2 separate regions of the Homo sapiens genome follow, and region 1 is linked to region 2. The links are contacts of gene promoters, found by promoter capture Hi-C in human tissues and cell types (Jung and others, 2019). All regions are on one chromosome and are shown on one strand. The core of a region is centred on a gene start or on the middle of the fragment in contact, and the rest is flanking DNA. Distances in the headings are between cores, read along the strand shown.

Region 1 (5,663 bases), core at 1,154-3,653, 800 kb after region 2:
GGGAGGAACCATCTATCGTCCTGTCCTGAAGAGGGTTCCTCCTAGGTCTGGTCGGACCTTTGTATGGTAATTAAGATTTAAATCCCCAGTTAGGAAACCTGCTGGGTTAAGGGAATTTTCAGTGGTTAATGATAAATCATCTTTTTCTAACAGAATAGCCCTATACTTTAAGATTTTTTAGTAAGCTACCTTTTTGCTTTTTGACTTAGGATAGTTCTGAACTGGTGAGGTGTGCTCACAATGAGGTTTCCTCTAAAAGTTATTTTTCTACTTTCTTCTGTTAGTAAAGCAGTTGCCGCTATAGATTGAGTGCATTTGGGCCATCTGCTGGTTACTGGGTTAAGGATTTTTGATAGGAAGGCTACAGATTGTCAGTGGCCTCAGTGCTTTCGGGCTACACCCTTGTTTACACTGACAAAGAGGTGGTATTGGAGTGTTATAGGGTCACAGAGAAGACCTTCAATTATCAACTATAGGTTTTAAATTTACCCTGGCTTTTAAAGGAATAGGGTACACTGTTTTTTTCTTTACTACTTCTATTTTTCTCTTTCTTTCTCTTTGACTTTCTCTCTTTCTCTCTTTGACTCCCTCTTTGTCTCTCTGCCTCTTTCCCCTCTCTCTCTGCCTCTCTTTCCCCTCTCTCTCTCTGCCTCTTCCCCCCCCCACACACCTCTCTTTCCCCTCTCTCTCTCCCTCTTTCCCCTCTCTGTCTCTCTCTGCCTCTTCCCCCCCACACACCTCTCTTTCCCCTCTCTCTCTGCCTCTTTCCCCTCTCTGTCTCTCTCTGCCTCTATCCCCTCTCTGTCTCTCTCTGCCTCTCTTCCCCCCCACCGCGTCTTTCCCTCTCTCTCTGTCTCTGCCTCTCTTTCCCTCTCTCCTCTCTGTCTCTATCTCGCTCTCCTCTCTGTCTGTCTCTCTCTGTCTCTCTCTCTCTTCCCCTAGGGTAGGGACCTACGGGAGTGGAACTACTCTCTCTTCCCCCAAGAAGAAAGGAAAGGGCAGCGGGGGGGTTGTGTCAGGTTCAACCCTTGAAATTAGCAGAAGGCTCAACCCCTCAACACCAGGGATGTCTCACCTTGCCCGTCCTGGAAGGCTCAACCCCTCAAGCCAGGGGGTGTCTTGCCTGTCCTGGAAGGCTCAACCCCTCAAACCAGGGGGCATCTTGCCTTGTTTGCCCTGGAAGGCTCAACCCCTCAAACTAGGGGGTGTCTTGCCTGTCCTGGAAGGCTCAACCCCTCAAACCAGGGGTGTCTTGCCTGTCCTGGAAGGTTGATCTGTTTCTCCCCTTTTCCCCCTCTGAAGGTCCTTTGCACACTTCCTACTCATGCTGCCCTCTCTGGCTGCTCCCCCAAGGTAGAATCAGGCCCTTCTTAGTGTTGGCATGCCAGTATAAATCCTATGGCAGGATCCGCCCTAAGCCATATGAGGTAGCTGTGGAACTGCAGAGAGGACCCACTCACTCCGTCGAGCAGTAGGACTTGTCACCATCCACATGAATAACACCACAAGCAGGGTTGTTGGTGATCATTCACACACACACACATTTAGCCCTCCAGAATTTGACCACCAAGGAAGTACTTTACGGGCTCCCATGGCATCTCCTTCCTTGGTCTGTGCAGAGTCATCACTGCAGTATGTGAGGATCATTTAAGCTAGGTTGCTGGCCAGTACCCCCTCTCCCTGACCCCTCGTGTTGTTAAGAGCTCAGGTTATTCCTCACACTGGGTGGGTCTTGATTTCTCACCCCTGAGGCCGCCACAATAGGGCCGGGTGCACCTCCTCACGAGAGAGAACCAGAGACAGTCCTGGAGGGGAATGTAATCCTGGACGAGCCCCCCAAATTGTTATATATAAAGTTTTGGTGCCACAAAAGAAATAGCATTCAAATATAAAATTTTCTTTTTAATTCTCAGCAAGGCAAGTTACTTCTATATAGAAGGGTGTGCCCTTACAGATGGAACAATGGTGAATGCACACTTGGACAAGGGAGGGGAAGGGGTTCTTATCCCTGGTGTACGTGGTCCCTGCTGCTGTGTCATTCCCCTATTGGCTAGGGTTAGACCACACAGGTTAAACTAATTCCGATTGGCTAATTTAAAGAGAATGATGGGGTGAGTGCTTTGGCAGGAGTCAGGGCAGAAGAGCAGGTAGCAGGTAATTGGAATGATTTCGGGTGGAGCAGGTGATCAGAATGAGTCAGGGTGGAGTAGGTAATCGAAAAAGGTTGCTTTATGAGGAAGTTAAGTTTAAAAGTAGAAGGCAAATAACTGAATATACTGACATATTAATTCTCTGAAAAGAAATTTAGAACTCATATCTAACAGGAGAGAGTGGCATGACATATTTAAAATGCTGAAGGGGAAAAAACTTTACCTAGACTAGTATATCTAGTAAAAATATCTTTCAAACATGAAGGAAAAAGAAAGATTTTTCCAGACAAACAAAAGTTGAGCAGTTTCATTAACATCACACTTGTCCTACAAAAAAATGCTGAAGAGAGTCCTTAAACTAGAAAGAAAAGGACGTTGAGCAATAAGAAATCAGCCACCATACCTGGCTTCATTGTAGTTTTGATTTGCATTTCTCTGATGATCAGTGATGTTGAGCACCTTGTCATATACCTGTTTGCCATCTGTATGTCTTCTTTTGAGAAGTATCTATTCAGATCTTTTGTCCGTTGTTAAATTGGACTATTAGGTTTTTTCCTGTAGAGTTATTTGAGCTCATTATAATCCCAGCACACAGGCAACCAAAGCAAAAATTGACAAAATGGGATCACATTAAGTTTAAAATCTTCTGCACAGCAAAAGAAACAATTAGCAAAGTGAAGAGACAACCCACAGAATGGGAGAAAATATCTGCAAACTGTCCATCTGACAAAGGATTAATAACCAGTCCCAAACAAAAGAACTGCTTTTGAAAGAAATTTAACAACCTACCTGCAGAGAACTAAGGCTTGTAAATCTGAGTGTCAGCACTTAGAGTAAAACCCACTTAATTTTAAATTTGGGGGGCTTGAGTTTGCCTGCAAGTTTCTTGTACATCCTAGGGTGAAATTTGTTAAAAAACGTATTCTTTCTACCAACAGAGAACTCATGGTTTCCCATTCAAGGGAGTGGCCTGTTAGGAAAACAAAATTAACCAAAAGAAATGAAATCTACTCCAGCAACCTATAATAATCAAACTATTATTTTACTTATATTTTTAAGTGGACTAGAGGGAAACAAGTAGCATAAAAAGGTGGATGAGGATGAACAAATAGAATAACTGACCCTGGAAGCTGGGTGTGGTTCCCAGCTACTTAGGAGGCTAAGGCAAGAGGATCACTTGAGCCCATGAGTTCAAGGCTATAGTGCACCATTACTGCACCTGAGAACAGCCACTGCACTCTACCCTGGGCAACTTAGCAATATCCCATCTTAAAAAAAAATACCTGAACCTAGAATAAACAAATTATATTTCAGGGAAGAGAAAAGAAAAGAACTTTAAAACATTTTTATGACTAGTCTCAGAGAAAAGAAACAATTACATATATAAAATAAGAATAGGTTGCTTTAAAAGGGGGAAAGAAGAAAAATATCTAAGAACAACAACAAAATAGAATTTGGGAAATCAAAAATGGGATTGCTAATATTTTTTTAAAACCCATTAAAGGATTAAAATCTCTCCTGGACCATAAAACAAAAAGACACAGAGACAGAAAATATTAGAGAAATAATTTGTTTTTAAACAGAGGATCAAACTAGAAAGGTTTAGTTACAGAGAAGAGAAATCCCTTTAAAATTCTTATAGAGATAAAAATAAGATATTAACAAAAATGGGAAGCAGATTGGTATCGGATTTCTCAAAAGCACCATTGGGTCCTAGAAACCAGTAGGGTCATACCTTCAAAGTTCTTAGTGAAAAATATTTTGACCTAGAAATCTGTACCCAGGAAAACTGCAAGTCAAGTAAGAGAGCAAACTTGTTCCTACCCTAGGACCTTTACCCTTGCTGGCAATGTCTGCCCCCAAGTCTTTGCATGGCTTGCTTCTTTTTCATCATTTAATGCTACCTTTTCAGATAAAAGGTCTCTAACACCCCCATCAAGACCCTCTATTCTATTAACCTGTTTTATTTTCCTCACAGCATTTATCACTAAATGGTATTTTTTTCATTTCTTGTTTGTTGTCTACCTCTCTCCACAAGGATGTTGTCTTTTTTCACCACTGTGTCCCTAAGTCCCTGGAACGATCCTTGACATATAATGGGAGCTTCATTATTATTTGTTGAGTGAGTGAAAAAAATGAATGAACGTCTTAGCCAACAGATTATGAGCCTCTACAGTAGAAATTACACCATATTCATCTTCATATTTTTGGAAGTGCCTTGCACAAAGTAGTGCTTAGTAAATCTCTATTGAATTATTAAATGAAGAAATGTTCTTGAATTAGCTAGGTTCTTATCAGCTCAGCAGTTTTGTTTCTGTGGTATTTGTGCCAGGACATTGTCAATTAGTCATATGTAAAACACTTCCATTTCTTGAAGTAAACTGAACCAGAAATCCTTCCTGATTTAAACACTTCATTTTCCCCCATTTTTTGGAAATGCCTCTTAGAAGAAAATCTGGCAGACACAGGAAGCACGTTTAGCAAAGCTCCTTCCTGATGAGCCCACCGCTGAGCTGGGGGTTAGATCCCTTCTCTCTCCCCAGTGACCAGAACTCCCAGTGACAATGCCTTCTAAATCATGATCTGTTAACTAGGAGTGTATTTGTGAGACAAATGAGCAAAGTGCATGAAATTGAAATGGTGCCAGAGATCCAGGATCTCCTTCTGGGGTAAGGCACAATGTAAAACACAGATGTGAAGGGCCAAAAGCCCAAGGAGTGCTTTCTTTTGACAGGCTGCCTGAGGCCAGGGAGCACCTTTATGAGACCAGTGGCCTTGATTTTGGTCAGTTTTGTCAAGAGTGACAAAATTATTTATTTCACTCTTTATTGAAGCCACTTTTTGCTAAATGGGAGGCTGTCTGTGCTTCTTTGGTCTGACTAGCTCTGGTATTAAGTAATCTCTAGGGTCTGTAGCAATAACCAAACAAACTGATGATTTATTGTTTCTTTCTCCTTATGGAAAGGAAGTAAAGTGAAGCTTTAAAGACTAAGTACCAAAAAACCCTATCACAATAAAAAGAAATGTAGAACATCTGCAAGGGCTTTGAAGGCCTCATGATGGCAGGAAAAGCTCTAGCAATGAAGAAAGAAAACACTGTGCCCTACACCTTCAGGATTCAGGCTGTCAGGGTAGCCCTGCTTTCTGGGGCTTGGGCTGATAAGAAGTGGTCTTCCTTTCTGGTGGCTTAGTTTGAGCAGTAGAACTCAAACTCAGATCAATAATTCACTGAGGCTTTATCTGAACCATGAGAATAGCTTTGTTTTCACATGATTAATTGAAGAGAAAGATAAGAAGTGGGAATAAGATTGAGAAGGAAAGATTGCATGGCCCCAGAGAAACCCTCATCACAAAGAGCTGAGCTACTCAGTGTGAATCTGGACTGGGCTAGGAATAAAAGCAGATTTTATGTGTTTTATCCCAATTCTCCTTTGTTTTGTTGTTCCCCGGCCCCTCACTCAACTCTCAAATACCAGTTTTTGATACTGAATGATATTAAGCGTTTAGTGCTAA
Region 2 (5,893 bases), core at 1,828-4,327:
TACTGCCGTCTTACAAACACTAGGTGTAGACTCAGCTCCACCAGACACCCAACATGAGACCTAGACAGCTCCACTAGGCTTTAGGATGAGACTGGGAGCAAGGGGTGCTCTTTGTAGATGGTGGCTGGGAAGGCCCTGCACTTACAAGCTGGGTAACAGTGAGTCATGTTTACCCCCAGGTGGAGCCAGCTGGACTGGAGGAGGTGATCACAGATGCTGTGGCTGGGCTGCCCCATGCTGTACGAGTCAGTGCCCGGGACTTTCTAGATGCTGGCACCTGGAGCACCTGGAGCCCGGAGGCCTGGGGAACTCCGAGCACTGGTGAGAGACAAAGCCAAAGAAAAGGGCAGAGGCCCCATCCCAAAGCATCTATCAGCTGAACCAGTTCCAAAAGACAGGCAGGTGGCACATGCCCTGCCCACACAGGCACGGCAATTGCTGTCCCAGACTTCAGACTTGTTTGCCTACAGCCCTGTCTTAGCTTAAGTCCTGCCCCTTGGCCTCCACCCCTGCAGTTACAGGCTCCACTTCTACAAGCTTGGAGCTTGCCATGCTCCCTAGGAGCTGGCCATGCCCTATCAGGCTCCTCCTCCTAGGTACCTTGACTTCCAACCTAGGCCTTGGCCTTGAGCACAGGACGTGACCCCCGTCCCCACCAGCGTATGGACACTTATTGGGTCTTGCCTTCCTTTAGGGACCATACCAAAGGAGATACCAGCATGGGGCCAGCTACACACGCAGCCAGAGGTGGAGCCTCAGGTGGACAGCCCTGCTCCTCCAAGGCCCTCCCTCCAACCACACCCTCGGCTACTTGGTGAGCTTGGGCAGATGGGCAAGACTTGTAAAGGACTGAAAACCCCAGAGAAAAGGGGACACCGAGCTTGGTCAGGCTTGCTCTCAGTGACATGTGGCCCTCCCCCTCAGATCACAGGGACTCTGTGGAGCAGGTAGCTGTGCTGGCGTCTTTGGGAATCCTTTCTTTCCTGGGACTGGTGGCTGGGGCCCTGGCACTGGGGCTCTGGTAAGTGACTGCCATTGGTCCCTCAGCCTCTGATCCTCACACATGCTCTGATGCCCATAGACCACATTCATCTCCACCCTTCATGACTGCCCGCTGAACCTGTCTGATTCTGGAACTACCTCCCCATACCTCCATCCCCCATGCCCCACTTGATTTTAACTGATTCCTCTCCTGACCCTTTACTAATAAACCCTTTGGCGGAGACTGAGATAACCCACATTGTTGGAGAGACAGCTGCCTTTCTATGCCCCAGGCTGAGGCTGAGACGGGGTGGGAAGGATGGATCCCCAAAGCCTGGGTTCTTGGCCTCAGTGATTCCAGTGGACAGGCGTCCAGGTGAGTAGGACATCCAGAAGATTTGGACTTGGAGATGTTTGCCCCTATTTTGAGTGTCCAGATTAAGAGCTGGCTGCCCTAGTCATTTTAAAACATGCTGGGAATCCAAGTTGGGTCTCCTCATTTTAATGATGTCTAGGCTGAGGGCTGGGCCTTTCATTCTTGAGTCCCTGGGCTCAGAAGTGGGTCTCTTTCCCTCCTCTCAGGGTACTGAGGAAGGACCCCAGGTGGACTTCCCTTCAGGGTATTAGTATTAGTACTAATACTCTTCCAGGGTATTAGACTCAGAGCTGGATATTCATCCTTTTTTTTCAAGGTGTCTTGGATCAGTGCTAGGTCCCCTCCTTCATTCTTAATGTGCCTGGGCCCAGAGCTAGGTCCACTCCCGTATCTTCAGTGTGTTGAAGAGGCTCCCTCAGAGCTGGGCTCCTCTACTCATCTTCAGAGTGTTAAGCTTAGAACTGAGTCACCTCCCTCATTCTCAGGGTGTCTGGGCCAAGATCCGGTCTTACTGTCTCTCCTGATTTGCCTCCTGCTTCTTCTAGGAGCTCCAAACCTGTAGAGGACCCAGGAGGGCTTCGGCAGATTCCACCTATAATTCTGTCTTGCTGGTGTGGATAGAAACCAGGCAGGACAGTAGATCCCTATGGTTGGATCTCAGCTGGAAGTTCTGTTTGGAGCCCATTTCTGTGAGACCCTGTATTTCAAATTTGCAGCTGAAAGGTGCTTGTACCTCTGATTTCACCCCAGAGTTGGAGTTCTGCTCAAGGAACGTGTGTAATGTGTACATCTGTGTCCATGTGTGACCATGTGTCTGTGAGGCAGGGAACATGTATTCTCTGCATGCATGTATGTAGGTGCCTGGGGAGTGTGTGTGGGTCCTTGGCTCTTGGCCTTTCCCCTTGCAGGGGTTGTGCAGGTGTGAATAAAGAGAATAAGGAAGTTCTTGGAGATTATACTCAGAAATTATTATCCAATGCTGCTTTATTATTTGGCTATTGGGGGCTTCAGCCCATTTTCCTTAGCATCCCAAAATTCAGCTTGGGCAGAGTCCCATGGAGCTTTCTCTCTTGGTGCTCAAACCACTGTGACAGGCTGGGGTTCTGGGGGTGGATGCAGATGCTGCGTTGAGCCAGGTGAAGCCTGGGTAGAGAAAGGTCCAAAGCTATGACCATAGCTTGGGGATGAGATTAGGGTCATCCCCAATGACCCTAATTAGGGGTTAGGAGCAAGGACCAGATGAAAACCTGAGTTGGCAACAGAATTAGCAGTTAGGGCTGGGGTTGGGATCAGCATTAGGGGTTGGGACTGAGGTCAGAGTCAGGGGTATCAGGGGTGGGAGCTCACACGAAAGCCTGGAGGTGACAGTCCCCGTCAGCCTCCTGCAGTTCCACCTGGATGACCTTCCTCAGTAGCTTGTCTGAGAGTGGCTTTCGGTAGAGCTGAGTACAGCAGGCAGTGCTGGGTGGCAGTAGGAATGCTAGGGGCAACAGGGCCATGTGTTCAGAGGGATCCTGACCAAGAACCTCTCTGCCAGACAGCTGGAGGTTAGGTTGGATTTCCTGGGTCTTTTCAACTTCATCCCATTCACCCAGACCCCCAGCTTTCTATACCCCCAAGTACTCACCTGCTGTAGGGTCTGGGCTCAGGAGCAATGACAGCAGCAGGAGGCTGCAGAAGGTTGGGGGCCCCTTCATGTTGCTCAGCCTAGACTCTTCCTTCTCTCTCTCTCCTCCTCCCCTACCTTTTATCTGGGTGCCTTTTACCTGGGGCACTAGGTGAGTCAGAGGCAGTTGGAGATGTACTGTGTAACCTGTGACACTCCTGGGCCCTAATTCTCGGCCTGTTGCCACAGACTCCTTCCTCATCTAGGATAGCCATTTCCCATGTGCTCCTAAGCTCTGGGCAGTGAAGCTGGGGGAAGGATTAGTGTGTGATGTAGGGACTGATGGAACAGTGAGTAAGGGCAGTCAAGCATCCACAGCAGCATCTAATGATAGACATTCACACTCAAATACGCATAGCCACACATTCAAAGTCACTCCTCAATCACTTGGTCAACCTCACAAAGTCATACTCATGATCAGACAACCGTAGACAAAATTATATAGCCCCGGTTATACTCAAAGTCCCTCTCCCACCCAATTGTGTTTTCACAGTCATCCAATCACAAGCAAATTCACACTAGCACACACAGATTCTGACAGGGGAGTTGTGGGTGGGGTGGGAGCAGAGGGCAGGCAAGCACCAACTTGCCTTCACCTTCTCCTCCCCACTTCCTGGCTTGGCCTGCCTGTCTTATCAGAAGAAATGGATGGGAATGGGTCCCTAGAGCAGGCCCTTCTGGCTGAGGAGGGTTCTTGGCTGAGGCCAGCCCCATTCAGAGAAGCTGGGGGAAGGCCCTTTATGGTAATATTAAGGGTGTTTTGGAGATGCTGAGGTGGGGCAGCTTTCCCCAGGATGATGAGACAGGGAGGAAAGGTGGGGTAGATAAGGAGGGAAGATAAAAGCTCTTTGGTGCTAGGTTACTGTTGTCAAAACAGGTAAAAGGCCCAGTGAATCTTACCTTCCTGTTTTTGTCTAGTCCTGTTCCAGGAATGCCAACCTCTTGCCAGCAGGGGCCTAGGGTCTCCAGATCCAGTCCCTGACTTGTTGAAGACATTGGACTCAAGCACTCAATTACATCTTTGTTTTACTCAAATTCCAGCCTCCTTCCTGGGCCTGGAGGAACATCCCCTCTCCCTACCCGGGTTCAGTCACACCCTCATGTCCAACTGCTATACCCCCTGCATCCCACCCTCCAGCTATAGCCGCTTCTCTCCTAATCCCATACCCAGCTGTCACTCCGTTCTTTACCCCCTCCCTGCAATGCAAAGCTCCTATTCATCTTTATCCAGTCCTTTCCAGGAAGCTGGGAGCTGCCTAGGGTGGGGGTATGCTGCCAAGTTCAGTGCCCCTGGCTCCTTTAAGAATTTCCCACTCCTGGTCCAGGGATCTCAATCTGCAAGTCCTGCTCTATATTTGAAACATAAACCAAGTCATAACACAGTAATCCAGCCCTTATCTTGTTGCAGTCGTCTGCTGTAGGGTCAGCCACTCTCTATGGAGTAGGCTTTCTCTTGGGATAGGGCTTAGGCCTTTCTCTTGTGTCCCAAGGCTTGTTGGGTGTAGCCACTGAGGAAATCCCAAGGAAATCTCCCAGGTTCCTCGGGCTTGTCATAGACCTTCTTCATCACTTGGCTGTGCGCTACATACTTTCTGGTCTTCCCTGGGCTTGTCGGTCCAGAAGTCTTCGGAAGGCAGAAAACAAATGCTTTTGGGTGTGCACCCATCTCTCCCCTTTAAGACCAAGTCTTCTCCCCAGCCACAATCTGCTGTAGCTTTGGCCCCAGCCAGAAACTGGGCCATCTCTTTCTTTAACTTAATCTTGTGGTGCCCTTTCTGGTGCTGGGTCCAGTCCCTAACTGAAGGCAGGCCCACATAGCAGTCCCTGATTCTCACCACTTGAGGAGTTAGTGGGTCCCAGGCTGATTGGGTGACAGAAGGGGGCGGCAAAGAGCAGTGGCCCTTGGACTCTCCTAGGGAGGGAGCAAGAACTTCTAGGTAGGCTGATGCCAAGGATCTCTAAACTTGGGATCAGACTGGAGGAGCCAAAAGTTGGGGTATGAACTGTAGGAAAGGTCGCCAACCCAAGTCGCTCCTCTGTGGCAGGCAGCTTCTAGGAATCTCCCCCTCTTACCATTTACAGCCTGCATCCTACACCTCTGCTTAAAATGTTTTAGATATACTCCCAGCAGAGAAGATTCTTCAGACAGCTGGCAAAGTCCTCGCTCCGAGGAAGGGAGTAACAGGCAGGATTATTTAGTTCTCTTCATATAGGCGACTCACAGTATGGGTTTTTGGGGGTTGGGATTGGGGGAGACAGCCATTGATAGTAACAGGAGGCCTGACACTGATGAGGGGCTTTGACGTGGAAGGGCACCCTTCCAGGGAGGGACGCCCTGTCAGTACGGAACAGAGCCCGTGTGGGGAGGGGCGCTCGGCTCGAATGGCGACAGCGGCGGCAGAGTCAGGAGGTCAGTACGGTGGGCTTCGGTTTAAATCTTTAATGCACTGGCTGGCTGGGCAGCGGCGGTGGGGCTGCGGCGGGGGAAGCCACGACCCGAGCGCTGGGGAGTAGGACCCAGGCCGCTGGACAGACAGCTCATCAGGCCTCGCAGAGGCTCCAGCTTCTGCTCCCCGGGGTGCGCCGAGCTGTGGGGCGACCCGACACTGGCATGAGGCGGGGCGGGAGCTACCGGATTCCCCCCGATGGGTCCTCAGAGACTGAGTCCCGTCCATGCCCGGGGCGGGTCCGCGGTATCGCAGCCTCCTCACCTCCGCTCCCTCCGCCACATGCGAAGCCAGGGGAAAAAGTAGAAACAGCCCCAGTAGATCCTGCAGAGAGAGGGCAGAGCCGGGCGGGGCGGGGCGGGGCGGGGAGGAGCTGACCCTACAGACTCCGCCCCGCGGTGCCTCGCCGTCGAGGAAGGCTCC

The links. Contacts are between HindIII fragments. The study calls those that stand out against the background at their distance.
Region 1: a fragment that was not itself captured here is called in contact with the fragment with the promoter of CCL27 in region 2 in 1 of the 25 tissues and cell types used here (hippocampus).

The regions. Positions count from the first base shown.
Region 1 is chr9:35,459,767-35,465,429 of GRCh38, forward strand. It overlaps the pseudogene ATP8B5P. Among named protein-coding and RNA genes, the nearest start is that of RUSC2, 28 kb to the right of the region's middle. The HindIII fragment of the contact is 6,634 bases long and covers 1-5,663 here.
Region 2 is chr9:34,659,580-34,665,472 of GRCh38, forward strand. It overlaps CCL27 (C-C motif chemokine ligand 27), which reads right to left and starts at 3,078. Exons shown (of 3, transcript NM_006664.4): 1 at 2,985-3,078; 2 at 2,705-2,837; 3 at 2,311-2,500. The coding sequence starts at 3,054. The coding sequence ends at 2,365. It overlaps IL11RA (interleukin 11 receptor subunit alpha), which reads left to right. Exons shown (of 13, transcript NM_001142784.3): 9 at 180-321; 10 at 695-814; 11 at 925-1,021; 12 at 1,275-1,357; 13 at 1,903-2,323. The coding sequence ends at 1,919. It overlaps LOC730098, which reads right to left. Exons shown (of 3, transcript NM_001320038.2): 2 at 5,735-5,794; 3 at 4,584-5,611. The coding sequence ends at 5,455. RefSeq lists an enhancer at 49-550 and a silencer at 5,791-5,893. The HindIII fragment of the contact is 14,352 bases long and covers 1,175-5,893 here.